Regions from separate parts of the Homo sapiens genome. Here regions 1, 2, 3, 5, 6 and 7 are each linked to region 4. Evidence: promoter capture Hi-C in 16 types of primary human blood cells and fetal thymus (Javierre and others, 2016). All regions are on one chromosome and are shown on one strand. Each heading gives the region's core, a stretch centred on a gene start or on the middle of the fragment in contact. The rest is flanking DNA. Distances are from core to core; before and after follow the strand shown.

Region 1 (2,966 bases), core at 31-2,530, 290 kb after region 4:
GGCATCCCCAAACCCCTGGATGCAACCCGTTCCCCGCGCCAGGCTAGCTGCGGGCGGCGGGGTGGGCAGCGGCAGCCAAGGGACAAGCCAGCCCGGGGACAGCGCGGAGCCACTAGGGCCGGCGGGCAGGCGGGGGATCTGCGGGACAGAATTCTCAGAGCGGACGGTGGCAAAGGGCTAAACCCACCCACACTCCCCGGGGCGCGGGACGGGACTGAACTGCGGTCACTAACAATGCAACGAAGAGGACCTTCCCTTCCCTTCGCCACTCCCCGCGCCGCCAGGCCTGAAGATACACACACTCCGGCACACCCCACACACCCATCCACTCCGCCCCAGTCCGGATCCGGGTGGCGGAGGTGGGGCGGGGGGAAGGTGAGCGGTGCCTCGCCCCGGGGTACCTGCCGGCAGCGCAACCCAGCGGCGCCCCCGCCTCGGTGAGGACAGTCGGACGCGCGGGAGGAAGAAGGCGCTCCCGACCGCGGCACAGATGCTCACGGGCTTAGCACCTGGAGAGACCCGGGGCGGCGGCGGCGCGCGGTGGCAGCGCGAGAAGTCCCCGCCGCGACCCTCTCCCCGCCGCACAACTTTGCGCTGTCGGCGCCGCCCTAGCGCCTGCCCAGCTTCCTTACCCAAGTACTGCCGCAGGTCGAGCAGGAAGCGAGGGGGTCCCCCGCTGAGCTGATAGAGGAGGGAGCCCAGGCAGAAGACCAGCAGGGTGGCCATGCAGAAGCCGTAGTCCCGGAGGGAGAAGCGCAGGAAAGGCAGCAGGGGCACCCGACGCTTCCAGCTGCCCAGGCCCGGAGGGGCGCCCCCCATAGGGGCCCCATGGGGCCAGGGATCCGCGCCGCCGCCGGGATGCTGCTGCTTCTTCTTCATCGCCTGCTCCGCTGCCTCCCACAGCCTGCCCGTGCCAGGAAAAGGTCACCCATCCGCCGCGAGGAGGAGAGCCCGGCTGGCCGGCTGCACATGGGGAGGGCCGCGCGGAGGGCAGCCGGGTGGGGGCGGGGAGGGGCCGAAGTTGCCGGGCTCAGGAGACTTTCTTCGGCATGGTCCCCGCCGCCGCGGCCCGAGCGGCCGAGGTGTCCGGCCCCGGTTCGGGGCGCTGCCCGTGACGGGGCGCCGCGCCCGTCCGGCGCCCGCTAGCGTCCCCACGCCCCGCGCCCCGCCGCGCCTCGGGCTCGCTTGCGGCCGCCGGGGCTCGCCTCCAGCGCCAGCGTGGACCCCCCGGCTTTGTGTCTGTAGGTCTCGGCGTGTTTTGTCCCGGTTCAGGCTTCTCTAAAAAACGGCAGGGAGGAACAGGAGGCGGACACCATCCCCTCGCTCCACCTCCTTGACAGGGGTTTTCCTCCTTCTCCTCCCCTTTCTCCCTCCGGCGCTCCGCAGCACTCTCCTCCCTCTCCCCTCCCTCTCCGCTCGGGTCTCGGGATTTCGCTCGGGTGTCACGTTACTGCTTCTGCTGGGGGCGGAGGGGGGGAGGCGGCGATTATTCGCAACAAGGAAGAAAGTTTCTGGGTGTTTTCTTTTTTTTTCCTTCCCCCGTTCTTTACAATCTGGATGCGGTTCCTGCGCCACCAGCGACCTCTTGGGGGCCCCGCTGACTTCCCTCTTGTAAACAGTCACCGGCAGGAAGAAGCACGACTGACTTTACTATTTACATTTTTTTCAGTTCAGAAAGTTGATTCTCCTTATATACCCCGTGCGAGCTGCTTACCCAAGGCTGATAAAAGGTACTAGAATACAGGCTCAAGACTTTGCTGAAATGGGAAAAGAGCAAGCGGTGCGAGTTATGGTCAAACACGCCCCAGAGGGCCAGGCGCAGCGCCTGAACTCCCGGGTAGGGTAGCCGAAGAGGACGCTCTGTTCTTGCTTTTCCTGGTCCTACAACTGCTCCACCTCGCAGTGCCCAGAGAGGCAAGTGGGGGGTGCATAGCGGACTCTAGGAGGTCATTGCCCTGCAGACATGAAGGGGAAAGAGCCCAGTCCGCCTATACGCTGATTTCATTGCTGCCTCTCTTCCCTCCACGGGAAAGCCTCTGGACCTGAAAGAACCTCCTGGGGCAGAAAAGGCTCAATCCTAGACATAGATCCTCTGATGGGGTGGTTGATCCACGGAAGGGCTGCTCTGATCAGCCACACTTTAAGTAAGAATACTATATCACTATTTATAGAAGCTGTAGCACCTGAGGGCTGTGTGACTCACCCGAGGTCCCAAAGCTAGTAGTAGGAGTTGGGTTGGGAGTTGCACTCAAATCTATTTGACCCTCAGACCCACTATACTAACCACTGCACAGCAGTACTTCCCAGCCAGAGCCCTTTTCCTTCACGTCCCATAGGAGGATGAGATTTAATTCATTTAGTTCAGGCCACATTGAGAAATGGAAACCTCAGTTTCTGGTGCCTATCATTTCTGGCTCCCTACTCATTTGTATATTCCAGTAATGAACAATTGGATTTAAGAAGGAACCAGGAGCCAAGAACCTCTATGATTCTAAGACTAGGCTCCTGAAAACCTTCATCAAGTTAGGCATCTGAAGAATATTCTGTGGAAAATTACAAAATATTATCCTAGACAAAGAACTTACTCGTTAAGAATATGTCTTAACCTCAGCTACTCAGGAGGCTGAGGCAGGAGAATCGTGTGAACCCGGGAGGCGGAGGTTGCAGTGAGTCGAGATCGCGCCATTGCACTCCAGCCTGGGCGACAGTGCGAGACACCGTCTCAAAAAAAAAAAAAAAGAAAGAAAAGAAAAGAAAGAAAGAAAGAATGAATATGTCTTAACCATGTTCATATATGAATGTCTCTGGTTCATGATTTGAAACATATATCATGAGCTAGAGAGATGTGTAGATGAGGTGACAGGTGCTGCACACACACAGAGACACACGTACACACACACAACTCTACTGTCCAATTTTACATTGTCCTAGCCCACTTTCTAAGGGATGAGAAGGCTGTTTTGGGG
Region 2 (2,740 bases), core at 21-2,520, 280 kb before region 4:
TGTCACCTGTTCAGCACCGCCAAGAGACCCTTGCAGCCTCCCTGACTCAACCACAATCGTAGGGTTTGAGGTTGATGGGACCGAAAACCAGAAACATCCAGTGAAATTTAAGGGGCCACATATTCATAGTAGGGCTTGCCCCCCACTTCAAAGACGGCTGCAGAAAACCAAGATCCGCAAAGGAACGATGTTCTCCCTCCCGCCCGACCCCCACATAACTGCCCCGTGTCTGTCCCCAAAACCCCCGCCCCTGAGTCATCTTTAACTAGACCTCGGCTCCCCAAAAGGAGATTTTTCCTCCCCCGCCCCCACCTCACACATGCCTGGGGGCGGGTCAGGGGCGCCGACGCAGGGAGGGGCCCTCCCGAGCCCCTTGCGCCCTCCCCCACCCGGGGCTCTCCTAGGCGCTCGATTCCAATGAAGCTCCCCCTCCCCCCCCGCACGGACGCCCCGGAGCCCAGGCCCGGCCCGATGCTCCCCACCCCCACCGGACTGGGGGACTCGGGGGGCCTCCCTCTCCGCCACGCCACTGGGGGAAGGAAAGAGGCGGAGGGAGGAAGAGTGCAAGTTAGAAGCGAACGCCCCGCACGGGCCTCGCGAGGCGGCAGAGCCCCTTCCAGACGGAGGGGGGTGCGGGGCGATGAGGGGAGAGCCAGGTTGGGGATCCCGCCGAGGCCCGGCAGCGCTGTCCGCTTACCCTTTGCCGCCGCCGCTTCCCCCTCCTCCTCCTCGGCCGCCGCCGCCGCCGCCTCTCCCACTAGGGCAGCCGTCTCCACCGTCGCCTCCGCCACCACGGCCGCCGCCAGCGCCGCCGCCGCCTCCGGTTCCACCCGGCAGGGGGGACACCTCAGCCCTCCCTCCCTCCCCGCTCAGCCCCCTCCGCTCGCCCGCCGCCGCCAACTCCCTCCGGCCGCCGCCGCCGCCACCGCTCCTGGCTGAGGGGGAGGGGAGGGGGTCGGGCTGGGTCGCCCCGCCGGCGGCTGCAGCAGATCAAAAACGACGGCTGGGCGGCGTCGCCGCTCCCCAATCCTCAGCTCCGGCTCGCTCGGCCTCCCCACCTCCCTCTGCCCCCACCCCCCTCGCGCTCGCCTGCCCTCCCCCCACCCCCCCAGCTCTCGCTCGCTCTCGCCGCGGCTCCGCCAGCCCAGTCCAAATCAAAATACTGTCACACAATATGGCGGCGCGGCGGCCGGCAAACACCGCGAGATCTGCAGCCGCGGCTGAGGCGGCGGCTGTGACGAGGCCTCCCCTAGCCGAACGGCGGGGGAGCAGCAGGCGGCGGCGGCGGCGGCGGCTGCGGCTGCGGCCCGGGGATGCTCTTCCTCCGACCTGTACCCCTCCCCCGACACTCGCAGTCTCTACGCCTGTCTTGCTAGGGCTGGAGGGAGGACGCGGGCCGCCGCTGGGGCCGTGCGAGGGGGGTGCCGGTGCGGGCAGCCCGGGGAGGGCTGGGACCCCCTTTCTCCGCCTGGGCCCCCCATCCTTGGGGGTAGGTTGCGGGTTCCACCTCCCGCCACGGGGGCCGCTAGCAGTTTGGGCTGAGGGAAGAAAGGAACTGAGCTCGCGTCCCAGCTGCACCTAGCGGAGGGGCTGGCCGGGTCCGGAAGTGGGTGGCGGGACTTGCCGGGCGGCCGGCGGCGCCGCGCGGGTGGGGTCCGGGGGCCCGGCCGGACCCCGGGGCGCTGCGGCGGCCGAGAGGAGCAGGTGGGCCCGCGGCGGAGGCTGGCGCCGGGTCGCTGCGGTCCGGGACACACCCCCTTGGAGCCGGATCGCACCGCCGGCTAACGGGAGGGACCCGTGCAGAATCGTCCCTAGGGTGTGCGGGAGACGTCTTGGGAGCCTCACAACTGGCAACTTCGAGACTTGGAAAAAGTGTCGGCTTCTGACTTTTCTTGAGCAGTTGAGGGGGAAAAAAGAAATCTAAATGCTGCGAGGGTTTCGTTGTTTCGATTTTATTTTAATTGCACGTTCCTAGAAGTCCTAGAAGCAGAGCCAAAGACTAGCTTTGCGGGAAGAGGGGGGGCCTTCAAGTTTCTACCTCCTTAAATAAATATTTGTTTAGTGTCCCCCTAGGGAAAAAAAAAGCGTGTTTAATACTCAGACGTTTCTCACAATGTGAAATATTTATTTAAAAATTCTAGCGCTTCCATGGTGTCCAAAACACTAGGGCATTTTTCTGCCCCTGTCCAAAATGTCCATATCCCTGGCAGTTTCTTCCTTGAAACAATTCTTACTCCAGAGAAAAATCCTAAAGGACCATTTTTATACTTTTATTTCCAGTGTGAGCACTGTAGCTACAGTGAGAATTTTTTTTAAACCATCTTTTAAATAGTAGAGCCTTCCTCACAGTTAAAAGTTCTTTCTCCCCACTTCCTTTTTCCTCATTCATCCTTTGAAAATACCTGAAGTCTGGGCTATAGCACCAATTCAAATACTTTGCCACTTCAAAAGCTGAAAGTACTTATGATTTACAATATCGGAATTTAATTATTCTCCATTGGTGATACCATTAAGAGAAGCAAAAGTAAAATTAGGATTTACAAAATTGGGAAGATTCTAGTTTTACTGGCGAGAAGAAATCATTAACTTTAACGCTTTACAGCAGTTCTCTGAGGAATTATTTCCATACTCAATGATAAAATAATTGATTAAATAATTTTAGATAAACTGAATCCATTAAGTAAATTTCACTTGTCTTTGAAACCATTATAAAGTACAGAGGCAACAATTGCTTTTGAAA
Region 3 (3,038 bases), core at 244-2,743, 340 kb before region 4:
CTTTGGCAAGATGAGCAGTTAGAAGACACAAAGTAACGAGAGTTTGATAATGGAAATAAATTTTAAAATAATATAAATTGTCAACACAATTTGGCCACAAGAGAGAAACAATTCAAATAAGCCTGGAAGATTAAGAACCTGACAGAAAGGAGAGTTTTAGACTTAAGAAAGATGAATAACCAAGTTAAAATGTCCACAGGCAGTTTGATATGAGATAAAAATCATATTAAGAAAGAAGTGGACTAAAAAGGCATCTTGATGCCTTGTTAAGGAAATGACAGTTCACATTGTTTCAACAGGTAATATAAAAGGATAGTGAGCAAGGTTTGACTTCCCCCTTCCTAAAACCAACAACTTAAACCTCTCATGGTAGAAAAATCCTTTTATCCTACTAATAACTCTTAATTGATACATACTAATTTTTCAAATAAAGTTGAAAAACTGATCACAATCTTTATCAACGATTCCTATTATAATTAGATCTTATCTTTTGCCAAACCTGATTGGCCCTTTTTGCTTTAAGTTAAATTTATTGCCATTCCAAGTAAATTCTTCTTCCTTCTAAGCCAAAGCTCAGAGAGTTTATCTTCCTCTCACCTCCTCTCTGTCATCATTCTCAATTTAAAATTTACATTCCCTACCAAATCCAATTCCACATTTCCTTTGTAAAAGCTTGATACTCATATTTAGCCTTCCTCTTTAATTCTCTTGAGCGCTCAAAAATTCCTTTAATCCTTTGTAATCTCTGTAATTATTCAATATGTTCATATCAAAAAGCAATATTCTAGCTCAGTTATGCCATAATTTATGTGCACTCAAATTATTTACACTCTACAGACATTACTTTCTTAATAGCAAAACATAAAAGAACTTACAGGGGTTTTATAAGGTTACATTAGGACAAAAGGAAATGTACTTTTTATTAAAATTTTTATTTTAGAAAATTTTAAACATATATAAAAGAGAGAGGAAATATGATAAACTCCCACATACTTATCACCCATCTTTGTTCGTTTGATGTATATGCCTCAGCTACTCCCCCTACCAAACTAGATGAAGTCTCAGACATTATCTCGTTTTGATTTGTAAATACTTCAATATGTACTGTAAGAGACAGGACTTAAAAACATAACCACAATGCCATGATCATACCTTAAAATAATCAATTCTTAGCATCACCTAATATTCAAATAGCACTAAATTAAAGCATAAAAATGTCTTTGTACAGTTAGTTTAAATCAGGATCTAAATAAGGCCTACATATTTCATTTGGCTGATAAGCCTTTTAGGTTTCTTCTAATAACCAGCCCCTCCCCTCTTTTAAAATTTTTTCTAGCCATTTGTTTGTTGAGAAAACTTGGTATTTGTGTAGTAGAATTTCCCCTATTCTGGACTGCACCCCGTGGTCAATCAATTTCCCCTGCATTTCATTGTAAACTAGTAGTTATATCTAGGGATGTGATGAAGTCCATGTTTGAATTTTTGGTGACCATCACAGACATCCACTGTCAAATCATACAAGGAGACACAGCAATGTTTGCCTGTCTTTTTGTGATTTTAAAACCAACTGGTAGATTCAGATGTTGTCAGCTTGATCCAACTGATGATTTTTAGCAGCTATTGATGATCACTGCTTAGAAACACTATTTCATTAGGGGTGCTAAACAGTAATACTGGAATGTCCCAATTATAAGATTTTGGCCAGGCGCAGTGGCTCACCCCTGTAATCCCAGCGTTTTGGGAGGCCAAGGCGGGATGATCGCTGGGCCCAGGAGTTTGACACCAGACTGGGCAACATAGTGAGACCCTGTCTCTAAAAAAAAATCTTGTTTTTAATTAGCCAGGTAGAGTAGGACACCTGCAGCCCCAGCTACTCAGAAGGCTGAAGTAGCAGGAGCACTTGAACCCAGGAGGTTGAGGCTGCAGTAAGCCATGATCATCCCACTGCTGCATTCCAGCCTGGGTGAGAGCGAGACCCAGTCTCCAAAAAACATAAAATGGATTTCATCTTCATTCTTAGCAGCAATTCTTCCTTGAATGCTTGCTCTCTTCAACTATTTGGTTACATTCTGCACAGAAGAGGCAGGATAAAAAAATTCTTTTCACTAGTTTTCAGAGTAACAAATTTGGTCCCTAGCAACCTCCAAAGGTGACTATGATTTATTTTTAGTATCATTATAAACTCATGTGTCTTTAATATTTTGATGTGTTTCAATCAGTTTTGGTCATTATGTCCCCTCTTCAAGTTACTGGGAACAGCTTCAAGTTGGCTCCTCGGTATACGACATGAATCCAGTAGTTTTTCAAAGCTTCTCTGCTTTCTGATATGACAAGATGTTCTAGCTTATCATGTACATCTACTCCAGACTTGCAATCAGCCATTTCTCAAAGCAGCCCTGGTTACTTTTAGTGAGAAAGGGTAGAAGACTCTCTTGAAGTGTATCAAAAGGGGTGGGATATGAGTTTTTAGAAGGTGGAAAATCACTGCTTTTTGGTATACAGCCACAAATCTGCATTCTCCTCAAAGCTATAAAAAGGTCTGAATCATTAATTCCAGTTCCTCTTTCATTTTTCCCCAAACTCCTGCACAGACACAGAAATTACAGATAGTATCAAAGCATATATACCCTATGGCATTCATTCACTCCTTTAACCAACATTTACTGAGCATTCATTAGCAAGGAGAAAGGAATATGATCGCTGATCGCAAGAATCTCAGTCTAGTGGAGGAGAATAATGTGAACACAAATGAAATGCAGTATGGTAGGTGTTATCATAGAAATATGGATAAGGACAATGGGTGAAGGTCATCTGAGAAGGTTCCACTAAGTACATGGCACTTAAATATTAAGTGTTGCATATACTGAATGAAAAATACTTAATGCAGTACTTTGAAAAGAAATACCAATTTTAAACTTACAGATTCAATCGTCATGTTAAGAGAATTTAAAAACGGTAAAAAATTAAGTTAAAAAACCAAAGTGAAAACTATGCAATATTTTCACATTCTTCTAAGTTTTCAGATTTAATTACCAAAT
Region 4 (2,850 bases), core at 80-2,579:
TACTAGTTACAGATAGCGCGGTGATTATCCGAAGAAACATCTAGCTGCGCTGAAAGTGATTGGCTCTGCAACATCAGACTTCATCTTTGGGAGGGTTGGAATAGGAAACTGCTGGTTTTCATTATACATCTTATAGGACTATTTGATTTTTAATTATATACATGCATTACTTAATAGATATAGCAAAAAATGCAGGGAGGTAAAATCCTAGGAACACATGTTTTGAAAAACAGTTCTGGTAGAGTCTGGTTGACAATGCAGCAGAAGCATCTAGAAGCGTATGCTATGGTAAAGACGAGGGGCGGGGTGAGACCTTCAAGTCAAGTGAAACTACCCCACCTGACAAACAACCCTCTCTTCTTCTCATCAGTGTGGGATTATGTTGGATTTTTCTATGCGTTTGTAGGTAATGAAATGAACGTGCTTACTAGAACCCACAAGAAACCACACATAAAAATCCCCAGCAATGTTATATACACAGGTATATTTCTAGCTTTTTGCTGTATTCTTTCACAATTCTGTGCCATTTGCAAGATGTGAAAAGCTAGGACATTATGTATTGATAAAAATGTCTGAGACATGAAAAATATACAGACCAAGAAATATTTTTATTTGAAAAAGATTTAGCCAGACAAAAATAGAAGCTTCCATTATAAAATGTTGAGTCATGCAAAATGGGTAAGGATTGTACTTCGCCCCGGCAGGGGGTACATTTTATAAGCAAAGAATGTCAGAGAGCTAAGGCCACGAGCCAAGGGCCCAAAGACAGTTTTGAAATCCTTTGTCTAGTGCTCTTTCCACATCACCACATTAATTCCTGGGGTGGACAGGGACCTTGACAATTTAAGCATAAAAGAACAAACTGACCACAAGGTCGTTTTTATAAAGATCAACCATCAACCCCTGGGGTCAAGTTTCCAATCTTTGCTCAAGCTTTAGAAGCCTTTCAGCTTTGTGGCGTTATCAGGAAAGTCCAAAAATTGAAATTTGTGGTGACTAATTCCACCCCCTACAAATACTCAATGCAGAGCATATTACTGTCAGCTCAGCTAAAAACTGCTCAAAGTAGAAGTGATTAAATTCTAAAGTAGAAAAAAATTCACCTCCAAACACAGAAACACACTGGTACCTCCCCCGCACACCCAGATATTATTAGCCAGCTTTTTGCCTGGGGAAATGAATCATGAGACAGAAAACTGTACAACCCCCAAGTCTGACCACACTGAGTAACTGGGGTAGACACAGAGGGGGGCATCTGGGGCTCTCCCGAGGCCAAGGTTGGGACCCAGAAGAGATGAATTTCCCTGGGTGCACAGGGTGGGAGGGAGGTGGGGCTGGAAGAACTTGATCTGGAGGGATGATCCCGAAGGCTCCCAGTGAAGAAGGCCAGGAAGAGCAGAGGATGGTGCCAGGAGGATGATGTCGGGGGACACAGGCAGCTCATGCCTGGATCAGGCAGTGACTGGTAACAGAAGGAGAGTCCATGCTGGTGGGCCCAGGGGAACATAGGTGGTCAAGCAGGGCAGTACTTGGTGTCTGGGGATGCAGTGTGCGACCTCCTGTATTCGGTGCGAGGCACATGGGGCCAGCAGGAGCTGGTGTGAGCCCGGGTCTGAAGGGTGGTGGGATCTTAGTGGGGAAGACTGGGAAGACAGCAGGGAGGAAGAACTCAGGCTGGAGGAGGATGGGGGCCTGGGAGGATCCCTGCCACACTGTTAGGAAGCCAGGGAGCTTGGGTGGTGGTAGGATGGGAAGAGGGCAGGGAAACGGGGGGAGGGTGACACAGGCCCTCCGGCAGCAGCGGCTTGGCCACTGGCGCTGAGATTGGTATGAGTGACTCAGTGCCAGGTTGCGCCACAGAAAGCTGAGGCTGCGGATCCTTCTCCTGCCTCTGGTAGGGCCGTCTTAAAGGCAGGGTGAGTGAGCCTGGCTCCAAGAGGCTGGGTCCGCAGGCAGGGGCTGACGTGGGCTGGCCCAAGCCCCAGCTCTCCTCACTCTGAGTGCTTCTATGCTTTCTCACCTCCACGCTTCCAATCATGTTATTTTCCTCTTATTAAAATGCCTCCTTCCACGTCCACTTGGCAAACTCCTACGCACCCTTTAAGGCCGGGCACAAATGTCTCCACAGGGTTATGCGCCCCAGCCCTGTTAGTGACGGCCTTCCAGCTAGACAAGATTTTCATCTTTATACTGCCCTTCCCCAGGAAAGGGACATCACAGACACTCAGCTATTTATTTGCTGGAGGTGTTTGTTGAATTTTTCTGGTAGTTTCAGATTACACCTATTTAAATATTAGTTTTCAGAGAAGAGAAATATTTTTGTAAAGTTATTCCTAGAACATCAATGTCTGTGAAGGAAGTTCTATTTTCCTGTTAATCTTTCATAATAAAATTGGAAATGCTTTCTCCTGGAGGAGAGATGATCCCAACGCAAGAACAAATCAGTAAGCAAGAGTAAAACATGTTTTCCAATAAAACAAAGAGTAATAGTTGAAATAGGCCAAACGCACATATATTATGCTGCAATTTAAGCTTTCATAAAGTAAATTAAACAAGCCTAGAGGCTGAATTCTTGTGAATTGGTGATGTTTCTGTAAACTGAATGATGTTATCAGCCTGTGGTTATACAGTTCCCCTCAGAAAAATGTTCACTAAAAAAAATCACAAGTGTTTAGAAGTTAAAGGGGTTTACATTATGTGTTCATTTTTAATGAACTATTTGCCCAGTAGCTACAGCTGAACCAGTTATATGCCTTCAGCTTAGACTTTTTTTTTTTTTTTTTTGAGATGAGTCTTGCTCTGTGGCCCAGGCTAGAGTGCAATGGCTCGATCTCAGCTCACTGCAACCTC
Region 5 (2,974 bases), core at 464-2,963, 320 kb before region 4:
ACAATCATGTAAAGATATACATGAAAAGGCCGGGCGTGATGGCTCACGCCTGTAATCCTGGCACTTTGGGAGGCCAAGGCAGGTGGATCACTTGAGGTCAGGAGTTCGAAACCAGCCTGGCCAACATGGTGAAATCTCGTCTCTACTAAAAATACAAAAAATCAGCCGGGCGTAGGGGTGGATGCCTGTAATCCTAGCTACTTGGGAGGCTGAGACAGGAGAATCGCTTGAACCTGGGAGATGGAGGTTGCAGTGAGCCAAGATCGCACCATTGCACTCCAGCCTGGGTGACAGAGCGAGACTCTGTCTCAAAAAAAAAGAAAAAAAAAGATACATAAGAAAAGATGTTTATTACAGTATAATTTATAACATGACAAATTCAGAAACAAGTTAAATGTTGTAAAGTATTAAGTTCATCTAAATGTACTGACATGGACAGATGTTCATTAACACCGTTCAAGGGGGCAGAAGCATAGACTAAATTAAACAATGTATAATGTAATCCATTTACATATTGATAAAGAGTCTTTACTATTACTTTATATCCATCAAGGCTAAAATGTGTGTGTGTGTGTGTGTGTGTGTGTGTGTGTGTGTTTTTTTTTTCTCCTTGAGACGGAGTCTCCCTCTATTGCCCAGGCTGGAGTGTAGTGGCACAATCTTGGCTCACTGCAACCTCCGCCTCCTGGGTTCAAGTGATTCTCCTGCCTCAGCCTCCTGAGCAGTTGGGACTACAGGTGCACACCACCACGCCCGATTAGTTTTTGTATTTTTAGTAGAGATGGGACTTCACCATATTGGCCAGGCTGCTCTCGAACTCCTGACCTCGTGATCTGCCTGCCTCAGCCTCCCAAAGTGCTGGGATTACAGGAGTGAGCCACTGCACCCGGCTAAAATGTTTCATGCTGAAAACACACTACTTTTAAAAAGTAAAAATAAATTAAAAGTAAATAATAAAGACGTGGTTATTTCAGTTTTCAGCCACTAGACTGTTATAAATGTCATAATGCTGGTGAATGAAATAATTGAATAGTCAAGGTATCTGTAAAAAATACGATATGCTCTTTTGAAATGACAGGTGCATTTTTATAAATTACTGTAAAAAAATTCTATGGATAGGTGAAAGTCTGTTTGTAGCAAATTAATCATATAAGAGATTTTAATGCTGGAATTCATTTCAAACCAAACAAAAACAAAATCCTAAATTCCACACTACAAGAGTGAATACTCAACATCTGATGTCAAGATCTACAGATGAAGGCTGGAAAGATTTTTATGCTTTAGATCCATCCTCACCTGCTATGGTGTGAATGGTCAGGTCCCCTCAAAATTCGTATGTGACATCCTATCCCCCAAGATGACAGTATTGGGAGGTGATCAGGTTTGAGTGTGGAACCTACATGAATGGGATTAGTGGCCTTATAAAAGAGGCCCGAGGGAGCTGAGCTGCCCCTTCCACCATGCGAGGACATAGCTAAAAGGTGCCACCTACGAACCACAGAGTGGGAATTCACCAGACATTCAGTCTGCTGGTGCCTTGATCTTGGACTTCATAGCCTCCAGAACTACAAGAAATAAACTTCTGCTGTTTATAAGCTACCTAGTTTATGGTATTTTGTTACAGCAGCCTGAATAAACTAAGATTATCATCTTATTTCTGTAACCTTGTTTAATGGTTGCTCATTTTGACAATCCACATCTACGTGTATAAAATGAAGTTGAGTCTCACTTTCAGTTAACCCCCAATTTTAGTCACAGAATCACTGTGAAATCTTGCCTTTAATAAGGCCATACTAAGTTTTCTACAAATACCTGTTGAATGGCAGTCTCCTACATTTCTATGTGCTAAAGTAGAACTACCATTACCTTTAGTTAGAAGGAAATAAGCATTTGGAATTCTCTAGGACATTAGGAAATACGATTAAATTAGGAGGTATCAGAACAGATTCAATAATTCAAATTTTAAGAAATCTACTTGAAAGCCCAATATATCACTTTGTCATTTATCACTTCTCAAAGAGCCTTTCAATAGCATTAGTTAAGTGTTACATGGAAAAATAAGTTTTTTTTTTGTGGCAATACATTTGAAAAATGCTGTTACTTAAAGTTAAGGAGGTTTCTTTATTTCTGGACTTTAATATGCACTGTTAATCTTTGGGTAGCAGCAGCAGATGCAATATTTCTCAAATTTAGTTGGGCATGATCCTATTTATCCATAAGCATCTTGAGGTAGGAAGCACACAGGTAAACAGTGTCATGTAAGTAAGGTAATCAAAAGACAGCAGTACCTTTCTCTCTTAGGAATTTATGCTAAGGAAGTAATTCAACGTAAGTTTAACATAGTTTTTTTTTTTTTTTTTGAGATGGAGTTTTGCTCTTGTCACACAGGATGGAGTGCAATGGTGTGACCTCGACTCATTGCAACCTCCACCTCCTGGGTTCAAGCGATTCTCCTGTCTGAGCCTCCTGTGAAGCTGGGATTACATGTCCCTGCCACCACGCCCGGCTAATTTTTGCATTTTTAGTAGAGACGGGGGTTTCTCCACGTTGGCCAGGCTGGTCTCGAACTCCTGACCTCAGGTGATCCACCCACCTCGGCCTCCCAAAGTGCTGGGATTACAGGTATTAGCCACCACACCTGCCCTAAGTTTAAAATAGTTTTCTAACAGTAAAAACCAAAAAAGAACCAAACAGCTTAACTTTTGGAAAGCAGCTTTTCAAACTGTAATTTATTAATACTTGACTATTATGCAGACATTAAAACTTATTAAAACCTCAGAAAATGCAAGGAAGTAGTCATGTAATATTTGGCAAAAACAGAAAGACATTATCATGTAAATAATTTTCACTGGGGAAAATTTTAAATTGGAGACCAAACAAAAAAGTATAGGGGCGGCGCATCATGGGAGATTTAATTTATTAAAAAATAATGATCTTTAATTAACATCCAAATGTCTGTTAACACATCACTTGG
Region 6 (3,005 bases), core at 420-2,919, 300 kb before region 4:
CTGCTGAACAATTACTACTCTAAATATATTCACGTTATAATAAATATAGCCATAGGAATGATTCAACCATACAGAAAAGAATCCTGCTACAAGGTGAATTATCTCACTCTACCCCTTTTATTCTGTTTTCCAGGTTTGGTTCCATGAGTAGGATCACAACCTTCACTTATTTAGGCACACCTTTCCAATCGATAATTTCTGTTATCAATTCAGAAACACTAAGATCTCAATCAACATCAGTCTGTTAGGCTCCTTGTAGGTTGCTGTTAAGCTCCTTCTAGGTTTCATTTTAAAAGGAAATTTTACACTCCAACAACTTCCAAGCTTTCATGTGAAGCAAAAATATGTTGTTTCATCTTAATTGTACTTATGTTTAAACTTAAACTCTTCCAATACTAGTTTCCCTCCTCAACTTTCCATTTTTGTCAGAAATAGCAATTTCTTTTCAGCCTGCAAAGTGAAGTTACCTTAACTCTTCTCTCTTCTCTTTCTTTACCTTTACCCAACTCCTTGAAATCGCATCCATTTTGTAATTAACATTCCTTAAAATACAACTTCTAAGACTCTCCTCAATGGTTATTACAGTCAATACAGTCCACAATTACTTCCATAGTTCTGAAATAAAATGTCAGGACAAGATTTTTCCACGAAGCTTCATATGGAAACTCATTTGGTGGTGGCAAAAATCTGAGTTGAACCGATGTAAGGTTATTTACAGGCTTGATTTAGCCCACTTACTGTGAATATTTTCACCTTCACTGCAGAGATACTAGTGTCTAGTTACAGGATGATACCTCAGACCTTGCTGGGAGAGTTATGTAATATACAATATACACGTTACCTTTCCCAAATCCAAAAATGTTTGAATCCCAAAACACAGCTGGCCTCAGGGTTTCAGATAAAGCATTGTGGACCTGTATAATATTATTCTAGGAATCCTAATTTAGGCACCCTATACTTAACTTTCTTCCTGATACTCTCTCTTACCTGACTCCATGCATCTCAGCTCCCATACCACCAAGTTCTATTATTTTTTCTTTCCAATATCTCCTGCAATTTTACTCTATCTCTAACTGCTTACCACCCTATCCCTATCATCAAACATATAAATGACCAGACCCACTGCTTAGCTCCCTGCCAGTCTTCCCACCCTCTGTGTAAGTATAGTATAAGAGATTAAGAAAGTTTCCTATATAACCACTTTAAATATTTCACTCAATTGCAGAGGAATTTAATAAACTGAAACAGATAAATAATAAAAGAGGAAGGATAGTGACTGTGGTGTTACAAGATGAGTTTCTGTTATTTTTTTAAACAGTTTATCTACAATTGTGAGCTAAGAAGAGTTTGACCCTTTTTTCTAAACTGGTTGAAACTTTGAAATTTTCTATGTTAACACATCTATTCTGTAACTGAAACAAAACAAACAAATGAACAAAATTGGCAAGGCTCCTTTCCTGCTTATCACTTCAGCTAAAACCCCTCAGTGTGGTTTTTCAATGCCTTCTCCAGTTTGGTTCCACTAGATCGGGGGTCATGAATCCCTCTGGCAGTCTGGAGAAAGCTACAGAGTCCCCCTCAGAGTGGTTTTAAATGCATAAAATACAATATCTAGGATTATAAAGAAAGCCAGTTTTACTAAAATATAGTTGTTTTTGAAAATATGGTTTTAAATGCATAAAATATACATTACTAAGAAAACCAATTATACCGAAACAGTTATCAAGTGTTTTTAAAAACCTTGTATGTGATATATTCATACATATGCTTCTTTAGTAATAATACAATAAAATCTAGTGGGAGTCTAATAAAAACCATAATTCTGAAGTAGTAATATGCATAAATTATAGAGATATCAACAGCTGTAATCTGAAAATATCTGTGCTTTTTCTATTAGTAATAAAAGATATACGTACTGCTAATATTACTGTAGTCTGCCGCTTAAAATCTTATTAAAAGTAAATGCTAAATTTCAGTTCAAAGTTCATAAAAATATAAAGATGTCACTTTTTTTTTTTTATCTAAATGCATGCAGCCCTCTAAATTGTATCCCTGGATCCCTTCAGGGTCTTGCAGATTAAAACTACTCTATTAAATTCACCTGCTTCTATTTCCCAGCAGTCCCCACACCCTTAGGAATCTGGGCAGGCCTGTCTGAACATGTTCAACCCACACTTTCCTTTCTTTGCTTACTACACTACTGCCCTTGCTTAGAATGTTATGTCTTCACCTTGAGGCTTATCAAAATCTTAACTACCTCTTCAAAACCAATTCCAATTTCACCTTCTACTTGAATTCTTTTTATCCTGCTTCAGCCCACATGGATCTTTTCCTACAACTACTAATGTAGCTGTAGGTCAATGCTTTATGAATCAACATTTAATTATTCTCTTACAGTCTACTTCTGTGTCTCTTCATCTAAGTTATAAGATCCCCGGAGACATGTGCTATGTGCTTACACATAGAACACTGCATATACATAATATAGGCACATATAAAGTACTCAGCAAGTGCCCCCAATAAATCAAGCACAGAAGATCATCTGTTTGGCAACTTCGAGTACCAGAAAATACATCAAGATAAGCCAAAAGTTCCACTAAGGAGTTAAAACAGACATAAATTAGGCTTATAGTTCACCTCTATCAGAACCTAGATACTCCTATTTAATTAAGAACCCAGAAGCTTATTTACTAGGCAGCAATGAATTCCAAGTAATAAATCAAGGAAGGAGCACTAAAGTCAGCACAAGACAATGATTCATTCCAAACATATTGGTTAAGCACTACTACGTGCCAGGCACTGTTCTAGAATCTATGATTCAGTTCTCATATAGCAACTTAGTGCCAGGCCCTGGACTAGAACCCGGGGTTCCTGACTCATTCTGAAGCTCTGAAACAAAATGTTTATTTCTATCTTCCAGAAAAGGTTTAGTATGCAGGGTAAAAGTGGGGGAGGGGAGGAGGTGTTACTATTTCAGAAAGCAGCAAAGTATGTGAAACATTATA
Region 7 (3,072 bases), core at 234-2,733, 260 kb before region 4:
CATCCTTTCCTCAAAGCCTTCAGTAGGAACCAATCCTACCAAGACCTTGATCTCAGACTTCCAGCCTCCAGGATTGTGAGAAAATACATTTCTGTTGTTTAAGTGACCCCAGTCTGTGGTACTGTTATGGCATCCCTAGCAAACTAACATAGCTACTGACTAAAACAAAATAAAGGCCATTACTCTCTAGCAAAGTCAGATATAATCAGATACTGGATTTATACAGCAATTCTTAGGGTTTTTTTTAGCTCTTCACTTATAACTTTAAAAATCTTCTATTAATTTTTTTTCAGGGAAAATAACTTTGCTACTGAGTGTTTGATACTCTCTAGTCTCTATCTGCCTTTTCACCATTGAAACAAATTTTTTATAACATTATATATTGGATCAATTGAGGTTTCATAGTAATTAAATTATTATGTTATAGCAGAATAGCTGCTTCTATGATGGTTCTTTTCATATTATCAGATGATGTAAATGAGGTTGTATTATCTGTGAAGTGATCCAACAACATTTTGGAAGATATCATAAATTTCACTTTAACAGAACATGTTAAACTTACATTTAGGGGGACATTTTTTGAAGAGTTAACATGAATGCTAATTTATTAACTATCTGAAAAGGCACTGGGACCCTGTCATTTATGCCCTTTTCTACCCAGGCTGAATGTACCTGGAACACCTGGTCTTTCATTCATTAAATTCAACATTCCAGCGGAAAATGCTATTGGAATGTGCAAAGATTCAAACAACAAGCCAGGACAGCTGCATCTCAGACCAGTTCTATTTTGAAACCAGAAAACCCATGCAAATAAACAATAGCAACACACATAAGAAGTGAATTAATGACAGCTTACTGGAGATGACTCAAAAAGAGAAAAATTTCAATTGCACTTTCCAGCCTTCTCTCAAGGATAAAAAGAGGTAGATTACTAATCATCCTGAATCAGATGGTAGATTTATATAAAACAAATTTATACTATATTACAGAGAATAAAAAATTTCAGAACATTTTATACTCAATGATTTTTTTCTAAATGAAATAATTCCATTTACACTTCCCCCCACATTTCTCTCTCAACAATTCTAAAAAGAGGAAGAAATCAGAAGTTTTCTAATGTATTGCCATTATTGGGCCCCTCTAACCAAAGGCCTGAAAGTCACGAAGCCTGGCCTGAGAAGGCCATTTCTGGAGTTCTCTCATGGTTGTTTTCACGGGAAGCAAAGCTCAACGGGAAACTCCCAACTTGCCAACATTTCAATCAGGAAAACTAGTGAAGATACGTACCTGGAAAAATTAATTTATTCATCTGGCCAAAGAATTTTAATTCAGTCCTCATATATGGAGTAACAATGAAAAAATTTTATAATTAGATTAGGTTATATGGTACTTTTATTAATGAAAAACAAAGGAATTTAATTAAGATTAAGAACATTAAAGAAATTGGTCATACGGTTAGCTATGAAAAAACTCCCGAGAAAGCTCATTGTTGCTTAACTAAGGTAGAGTATATTAATTTTAGAAACTTCAGGGGTGCTTTTGTTCCAAATCAAAAATATGCTGGATTTCTTTATGTCATTTTTTGACATATGTCATCTTTATGACATTCTATATGTCATTTTTATGCTCCTTAATTTACCTATTTGAATCCTGTCAACAGCATAGTTCAGTGTTTTTTCAAAAATAAAATTTAACGACTGGTTCTTCTTCCATTTAAAACAATTTCTTTCATTCCCTTTTTCAAAGTTTATTTTATTCTCTTTTTCAAAGTAAGGAGAAATTCTAGAAATGCTTGCTGGTGTAGTCTCATTGTTTAAACTTGTTACTTTACAGCCAATCTGTTGCTTACTAATAATTTTAATTGCATCAATCACTCATTCTAAAGCTGTGCTTTTTATCTTGACTTGTTTAGTTCACATGCACTCCTGATTATGAAAGAGTTTTTTTCTGATGCTCCAAGTCACTGGAAAATGAGGGGAGTCAGTTTTTGTTGTAAAATATGTACTAAACCATTTACTCTTTACAGAGCATTGTACTAATCAGAGGCATTATGCCTCTGTCTAGTGAATCAATCTGCTTAACATTCTTATACTTACATTCTGCAAAACCCAGTCCCTGATCACATCTCTGGAAGGCTTCTAAGATTACTCCTTTATGAAGTTTCTCATTTAGGTCTTAATTTGCAAAAATTTTAATGAATGTTCATTGGTATGTTGCTTTATAACTTTTCTAATTATTTAGTTCTTATGATCTGTCTTCATAGCTAGACTATAAACTTTCAAGGGTTGGCACCATGTCTTCTACTATTTATATGACCAGCAACATCACTGTGATTAGTACTCATTCTCCTAGAAATCTAAAATAATGTATATAGTTTCTTTTGTTTGTTTTTTGTTTTTTTAGAGACAGGGTCACACTCTGTCACCCAGGCTGGAGTGCAGTGGTATGATCTTGGCTCACTACAACCTCCACCTCCCCAGTTCAAGTGATTCTCCTGCCTCAGCCACCTGAGTAGCTGGGATTACAGGCACCCACCACCACCCCTGGCTAATTTTTGTATTTTTAGTAGAGACGGGGTTTTGCCATGTTGGCCAGGCTGATCTCGAACTTCCGACCTCAAGTGATCTCCCCGCCTCAGCCTCCCAAAGTGCTGGGATTACAGGCGTGAGCCACTGCACCCAGGCCGGTGTGACAGTTTTGACCTGCTTCATTTCCAGCCTGGGTAGGTTCACCCCTCCTTAGGCAACCTGGTGGTTCTCTGCTCCAGGGAGGTCACCATATGGATGCCAAACTTAGTGCAGACACCTGATCGGTTTAGAGCACTATGGCCCAGATCTCTTGTGCTCAAGCGATCCTCTCACCTTAGCCTCTGGAGTAGCTGGGACTACAGGCAGGCACCACTGTGCCCGGCTTAAAATAATATTTCTACTGATGACATCCAGTCACAGTAAAATTCTGAAGTGTTTTCTGAATAATCAAAGAAAATGTGAACTCTTTCATGTTGTAGTCCAATTTTTTGAAATTCAGCAATCTTGGATTATAAATGTATGTCCTCTTTTTCAGATCCCAGAT

Evidence for each region. Contacts are between HindIII fragments. The CHiCAGO score rates a contact against its expected background, and 5 or more counts as called.
Region 1: a contact is called between the fragment with the promoter of UST here and the fragment with the promoter of UST-AS2 in region 4, in 2 of 17 cell types (total B cells and naive B cells). The highest score is 7.0, in total B cells.
Region 2: a fragment that was not itself captured here is called in contact with the fragment with the promoter of UST-AS2 in region 4 in 10 of 17 cell types (non-activated CD4 T cells, megakaryocytes, activated CD4 T cells and 7 more); the score reaches 7.5 in non-activated CD4 T cells.
Region 3: a fragment that was not itself captured here is called in contact with the fragment with the promoter of UST-AS2 in region 4 in 15 of 17 cell types (total CD4 T cells, activated CD4 T cells, naive CD4 T cells and 12 more); the score reaches 15.0 in total CD4 T cells.
Region 5: a fragment that was not itself captured here is called in contact with the fragment with the promoter of UST-AS2 in region 4 in 14 of 17 cell types (activated CD4 T cells, non-activated CD4 T cells, M1 macrophages and 11 more); the score reaches 15.4 in activated CD4 T cells.
Region 6: a fragment that was not itself captured here is called in contact with the fragment with the promoter of UST-AS2 in region 4 in 14 of 17 cell types (activated CD4 T cells, M1 macrophages, non-activated CD4 T cells and 11 more); the score reaches 16.2 in activated CD4 T cells.
Region 7: a fragment that was not itself captured here is called in contact with the fragment with the promoter of UST-AS2 in region 4 in 5 of 17 cell types (non-activated CD4 T cells, naive CD4 T cells, total CD4 T cells and 2 more); the score reaches 7.1 in non-activated CD4 T cells.

The regions. Positions count from the first base shown.
Region 1 is chr6:148,745,344-148,748,309 of GRCh38, reverse strand. UST (uronyl 2-sulfotransferase) reads right to left here and starts at 1,280. Exons shown (of 8, transcript NM_005715.3): 1 at 633-1,280. The coding sequence starts at 879. It overlaps LOC124901425 (a long non-coding RNA gene), which reads left to right and starts at 2,711. Exons shown (of 2, transcript XR_007059806.1): 1 at 2,711-2,966. RefSeq lists enhancers at 1-143, 1,452-1,531, 1,592-1,651 and silencers at 322-491, 792-881. The HindIII fragment of the contact is 11,485 bases long and covers 1-2,966 here.
Region 2 is chr6:149,315,973-149,318,712 of GRCh38, reverse strand. TAB2 (TGF-beta activated kinase 1 (MAP3K7) binding protein 2) reads right to left here and starts at 1,001. Exons shown (of 7, transcript NM_001292034.3): 1 at 698-1,001. RefSeq lists an enhancer at 1-118 and silencers at 209-1,108, 1,199-1,738, 1,789-1,858. The HindIII fragment of the contact is 9,290 bases long and covers 1-2,740 here.
Region 3 is chr6:149,373,183-149,376,220 of GRCh38, reverse strand. All of the region lies in intron 2 of TAB2 (TGF-beta activated kinase 1 (MAP3K7) binding protein 2), which reads right to left. Among named protein-coding and RNA genes, the nearest start is that of SUMO4, 26 kb to the left of the region's middle. The HindIII fragment of the contact is 1,637 bases long and covers 675-2,311 here.
Region 4 is chr6:149,031,140-149,033,989 of GRCh38, reverse strand. UST-AS2 (UST antisense RNA 2) reads left to right here and starts at 1,329. Exons shown (of 2, transcript NR_134599.1): 1 at 1,329-1,465. The region is part of intron 7 of UST (uronyl 2-sulfotransferase); the gene reads right to left. RefSeq lists an enhancer at 736-925. The HindIII fragment of the contact is 1,599 bases long and covers 936-2,534 here.
Region 5 is chr6:149,355,054-149,358,027 of GRCh38, reverse strand. The region is part of intron 1 of TAB2 (TGF-beta activated kinase 1 (MAP3K7) binding protein 2); the gene reads right to left. Among named protein-coding and RNA genes, the nearest start is that of TAB2, 39 kb to the right of the region's middle. The HindIII fragment of the contact is 8,099 bases long and covers 1-2,974 here.
Region 6 is chr6:149,335,937-149,338,941 of GRCh38, reverse strand. The region is part of intron 1 of TAB2 (TGF-beta activated kinase 1 (MAP3K7) binding protein 2); the gene reads right to left. Among named protein-coding and RNA genes, the nearest start is that of TAB2, 20 kb to the right of the region's middle. RefSeq lists an enhancer at 2,080-2,229. The HindIII fragment of the contact is 2,030 bases long and covers 655-2,684 here.
Region 7 is chr6:149,291,191-149,294,262 of GRCh38, reverse strand. It overlaps a transcript of TAB2 not described here and the pseudogene RN7SL234P. Among named protein-coding and RNA genes, the nearest start is that of TAB2, 25 kb to the left of the region's middle. The HindIII fragment of the contact is 8,368 bases long and covers 1-3,072 here.